Linked DNA regions of Homo sapiens: region 1 is linked to region 2. Evidence: promoter capture Hi-C in human tissues and cell types (Jung and others, 2019). All regions are on one chromosome and are shown on one strand. Each heading gives the region's core, a stretch centred on a gene start or on the middle of the fragment in contact. The rest is flanking DNA. Distances are from core to core; before and after follow the strand shown. Region 1 has its middle 12 kb from the start of PEX39. Region 2 holds the start of ABCC10 (ATP binding cassette subfamily C member 10).

Region 1 (2,818 bases), core at 315-2,814, 530 kb after region 2:
TTTTTTTTTTTTTTTTTTTTTTTTGAGATGGAGTCTCACTCTATCGCCCAGGCTGGAGTGCAGTGGTGCAATCTCCACTCACTGCAAGCTCCACTCCCAGGTTCACGCCATTCTCCTGCCTCAGCCTGTCGAGTAGCTGGGACTACAGGCGCCCGCCACCACGCCTGGCTAATTTTTTTGTATTTTTAGTAGAGACAGGGTTTCACCGTGTTAGCTAGGATGGTCTCGATCTCCTGATCTCAGGTGATCCACCCGCCTCGGCCTCCCAAAGTGCTGGGATTACAGGCGTGAGCCACCGTGCCCGGCCAATTTTTGTATTTTTAGTGGAAATGGAGTTTCTCCATGTTGGTCAGCCTGGTCTCGAACTCCTGATCTCAGGTGATCTGCCCGCCTCAGCCTCCCAAAGTGCTAGGATTACAGGCGTGAGCCACCATACCCAGCCTACGCCAAACTTGTAGGGAAAAGAGAGAGAGATCAGACTGTTACTGGGTCTACATAGAAAAGGAAGACATAAGAAAGTCCATTTTGATCTGTACCCTGAACAATTGTTTTGCCTGGAGATGCTGTTAATCTGTAACTTTAGCCCCAACCTTGTGCTCACAGAAATATGTGTTGTATGGAATCAAGGTTTAAGGGATCTAGGGCTGTGCAGGATGTGCCTTGTTAACAAAACGTTTACAGGCAGTATGCTTGATAAAAGTCATCGCCATTCTCCATTCTCGATTAACCAGGGGCACAATGCACTGCAGAAAGCCACAGGGACCCCTGCCCAGGAAAGCCAGTATTGTCCAAGGTTTCTCCCCACTGAGACAGCCTGAGGTATGGCCTCGTGGGACGGGAAAGACCTGACCATCCCCCAGCCCAACACCCGTGAAGGGTCTGTGCTGAGGAGGATTAGTAAAAGAGGAAGGCCTCTTGCAGTTGAAATAAGAGGAAGGCCTCTGTCTCCTGCATGCCCCTGGGAACGGAATGTCTCAGTATAAAACCCGATTGTACATTCGTTCTATTCTGAGATAGGAGAAAACCGCCCTGTGGCTGGAGGTGAGATATGCTGGTGGCAATACTGCTCTGTTATTCTTTACTACACTGAGATGTTTGGGTGGAGAGAAGCATGAGTCTGGCCTATGTGCACATCCAGGCATAGTACCTTCCCTTGAACTTATTTGTGACACAGATTCCTTTGCTCACATGTTTTCTTGCCAACCTTCTCCCCGCTATCACCCTGTTCTGCCACATTCCCCTTGCTGAGATAGTGAAAATAATAATCAGTAAATACTGAGGGAACTCAGAGACGGGGGCCGGTGCAGGTCCTCTGTATGCTGAGCGCCAGTCTCCTGGGCCCCACTGTTCTTTCTCTATACTTTGTCTCTGTGTCTTATTTCTTTTTTTAGTCTCTCGTCCCACCTGACGAGAGATACCCACAGGTGTGGAGGGGCAGGCCACCCCTTCATCTGCCGCCAATGTGGGTGCCTTTCTCTAAGGTGAAGGTACATTAAGAACGTGAGCATTGAGGACAGTCGACGAGAGATTCCCGAGTACGTCCACCGTCAGCCTTGCGGTAAGCTTGTGTGCTCGGAGGAACCCAGGGTAACAATGGGACAAACTGAAAGTAAATATGCCTCTTATCTCAGCTTCATTAAAATTCTTTTAAGAAGAGGGGGAGTTAGGGCTTCTACAGAAAATCTAATTACGCTATTTCAAACAATAGAACAATTTTGCCCCTGGTTTCCAGAACAGAGAACTTTAGATCTAAAAGATTGGGAAAAAAATTGGCAAAGAATTAAAACAAGCAAATAGGGAAGGTAAAATCATCCTACTTACAGTATGGAATGATTGGGCCATTATTAAAGCAACTTTAGAACCGTTTCAAACAGAAGAAGATAGCATTTCTGCTGCCCCTGAAAGCTGTGTAATAGATTGTGAAGAAGAGGCAGAGACAGAGTTTAGGAAAGGAATGGAAAGTTCACATTGTAAATATGTAGCAGAGTCTGTAATGGCTTGGTCAACGCAAAATGTTGACTACAATCAATTAAAGGAGGTAATATATCATGAATAATCAAAATTGGGGGAAGGAGGTCCAGAATTATTGGGGCCATCAGAGCCTAAACCACGATGGCCATCAACTCCTCCCGTGGTTCAGATACCTGTAACATTACAACCTCAAAGGGAGGTTAGACAAGTACAAACCCCAAGAGAATATCAAGTAGAAAAGGATAGAGTCTCTATCCCGGCAATGCCAATTCAGATGCAGTATCCACAATATAAGCTGGTAGAAAATAAGACCCAACCACCAGTAATTTATCAGTACTGGCCGCCAGCCGACCTTCAGTATCGGCCACCTCCAGAGGTTAAATACAGACCTCAAGTGGTGTGTCCTGTGCCAAATAGCACGGCACCATACCAGCAACCCACGGCAGTGGTGTTTAATCCTACCGCACCACCTAGTGGACAAGGTAGTACACTGCATGAAATTATTGATAAAGCCAGTAAACAGGGAGATCTTGAGGCATGGGAGTTCCCGGTAATTTTACAACCGATACCGGCCGGGAAAGGGACTCTAGCAGGAGCGTCTGTCCAAACTGAAGCTAGATATGAATCTTTCACCATGAAAATGTTAAAAGATATGAAGGAAGGAGTTAATATGGACCCAACTCCCCTTATGTGAGAACATTATTAGATTCCATTGTTCATGGAAATAGACTTATTCCTTATGACTGGGAAATTTTGGCTAAATCTTCCCTTTCACCCTCTCAGTTTCTACAGTTTAAACCGTGGTGGATCGATGGAGTACAAGAACAGGTACGAAAAAATCAGGTTA
Region 2 (2,700 bases), core at 51-2,550:
CAAGAAAGACCTCTTGGATAGAGACACTTCCCCCCATCAGACTAGGAACTCCCAAAGGCAGAGACCACACCGTCCTCCTATCTTCTCGGCAGCCAGAATGAGACTAACTTTAGTCATCTCTAGCCATACAAGAACTAAATACAAAATCAAGTTGAGTTTAGCATCCACACCTTATAGCCCTTAATTGGGGAAGGCTTAATGTTTGATTTTGCTCTTCTTGTCTATCTACTGCTTCCTCTTCAGCTGAGCCTAGGTATGCTTTTCTTAATCTGGAAACACTAAGGTTTCATGGGTTGCAGTGGTGAGAAACTGAGCCTACAACTTAAACACATCATCGCTTTTGGCTAAAAACGTTGTTCCCCCAATTCTGCCTCCAATTCATGACAGCTGAGTCCGGGTAGCTGAAAATGGACAATTCTGATGATTTCTGATACTCATCGGACCTTTAAAAACATGCCAGGCGCTGCACTATATGCTTAAATTCATTATCTCATTTAAACCTCCCAACAATGAGACTCAGAGAAGGCAGGTACTTGCCCAAGAACAGCCACATTGCTGCTAAGTAGCAATGCTTAGATTTTATTCTACTTCTGCCCTACTCCAGAGACCTCGCTATTCTGGTGACACTGCCGGAAGATGTAGGCCGCGGGTGAGATCTGCAGGCACACATGGACAGATGCCTTGCGCCCGTCTCTACCCACCTCGGGGTGCCCAAGTAACAGGCACTGAGCACGGCGAGGAGCGCGTGGGGCAGGGCGCTGAGCACCAGCTGGGTGAAGCAGTGGCCTGTGGTGTCCCCCTCCCACAGCGGGAGCGGCCACGCTGCGCTGCTGCCGCACAGCTGGGCCAGAAGTCGTTCCATGGACGCCTCACCTGAAGGGAAAGTTGAGGGTGACGGCTGTGCAGGGTAACAGCCGGCTTTGCCTGCACTTCCCAGCCGGGTCTCCCTGTCTCCAGCCCCGCCCTGGAACCGGGACCGCCCGTCGCTTCCGCCCCGAAGCCAGACCCCGCCCATTCTCGCGGTACCAAGGGTAAAAACGGGAGGAGGTTTCCCCAGTGGATTTCTGGACGCTGGTCACCCACCTTGCCATCTGTTTTTCCCCTCCCGTTTCTCCGCCCCCAGGCATCCGGAACCTCAAACCTGAAGAAGCTGCTGTGCACCGGATTCCGATATCCTGAGAACTGGTGTATGCAAAAAAAAAAAAAGTACTGCCCGGCCGGGGTGCTGGGCCCGCCCCGGCTGGCACCCCACCTAGAGGTTGGAAGACCTAGCCGGCGCTATTCGCCACGCCCATATGCTGGTAGCTGCACGCATGTGCACTGCTCTCTGCTTCGGCTGGCCTTTGCACGCAGGCGCGCTGGTGCAGACGCACAGTTGCGTTTTGGTACGCTTTTGTGGCCTGACTTGCGTTAAGGATCCATCCCTCCCTTAGTGCAACGTCATTTATAACCTCTCACGTGGAGTATTCGCTCACAACTGTGTAAGCTTACTAGTTGGCACAAGCATTGCAATCTCCATTTCTTGAAGAGGTGGGGAGCCGGGCACGGTTGCGCGCCTCGGTAGTCCCTGCGCGCCCGTAGTCTCTGCGCGCCGGTAGATCCCAGGAGGATGGCCTGAGCCCAGGAGTTCGAGAACAGTCCAAGCAGCATAGCGAGACCCCAGTCTCAGATAGATAGATGGATGGATGGAAATTCAAACATACCTGCCCCACGGACAAATAATGCCATTTTGGGACACACTGTTTTCCCTTATTATTCTAGGGCTGCATGACCTTGGACAAGTTACCTAACTTTTTTGAGCCTCAACTTTTTTTTGGGGGGGGGACGGAGTCTCGCTCTGTCACCAGGCTGGAGTGCAGTGGCACAATCTCGGTTCACTGCAACCTCCGCCTCCCGGGTTAAAGCGATTCTCCTGCCTCAGCCTCCCGAGTAGCTGGGACTACAGGCGCGCGCAACCACGCCCAGCCAATTTTTTTGTTCGTATTTTTAGTAGAGACGGGGTTTCACCATGTTGGCAAGGATGGTCTCGATCTCCTGACCTCGTGATCCGTCCGCCTTGGCCTTCCGAAGAGCCGGGATTACAGGCGTGAGCCACCACCCCGGCCGAGCCTCAACTTCTTTATTTGTACAACAGGGACAATACCAATACTAAAGTACTGTTGAGAGAGTTGAATAATTAATTTAGAGTGCTTAGGGCAAGTGCTTTGCCTAGGGTAGTCCTCCAATAAATCTTTTAAGGAAGCAGTGGGAAGAACATAACCTTTATAATTATACGGACCTGGGTTTGAATGCTTTTAGCAGAGGGATGTTGGGCAGGTTACTTCTGCATCTTTATTTTATTATGTTTGTCAGGCATGGTGTTGGTATCCGCCTTTACATAGGTGTGTACAGTGCTTGAAGAAGAAAAGCTAAACAAATGACAATTATGGTTATCCCACTTAATCTCAGTAAGAAGCCCCATATCCCTCAACGTCAAGAATTAATTTTCCTATTTTTAAAAACTAAGAGATGTAGGTTTGCATTTCACAATCTTTAGTAATTAATTAACAGAGTCTTGCTACCTGGCCCAGGCTGGTCTTGAACTCCTGGCCTCAGGTGATGCGCTTGCCTTGGCCTCCCAAAGTGCTGGGATTATAGGTGTGAGCCACTGCACCTGGCCAGGCTCCACTTCTAATTCTAATTCACTTGCTGTTTCCATCA

Evidence for each region. Contacts are between HindIII fragments. The study calls those that stand out against the background at their distance.
Region 1: a fragment that was not itself captured here is called in contact with the fragment with the promoter of ABCC10 in region 2 in 1 of the 25 tissues and cell types used here (psoas muscle).

What each region holds. Positions count from the first base shown.
Region 1 is chr6:42,901,265-42,904,082 of GRCh38, reverse strand. No RefSeq gene overlaps it. Among named protein-coding and RNA genes, the nearest start is that of PEX39, 12 kb to the right of the region's middle. RefSeq lists a silencer at 2,325-2,554. The HindIII fragment of the contact is 6,837 bases long and covers 1-2,818 here.
Region 2 is chr6:43,426,141-43,428,840 of GRCh38, reverse strand. It overlaps ABCC10 (ATP binding cassette subfamily C member 10), which reads right to left and starts at 1,300. Exons shown (of 22, transcript NM_001198934.2): 1 at 1,084-1,300; 2 at 702-873. The coding sequence starts at 862. RefSeq lists an enhancer at 654-723. The HindIII fragment of the contact is 15,144 bases long and covers 1-2,700 here.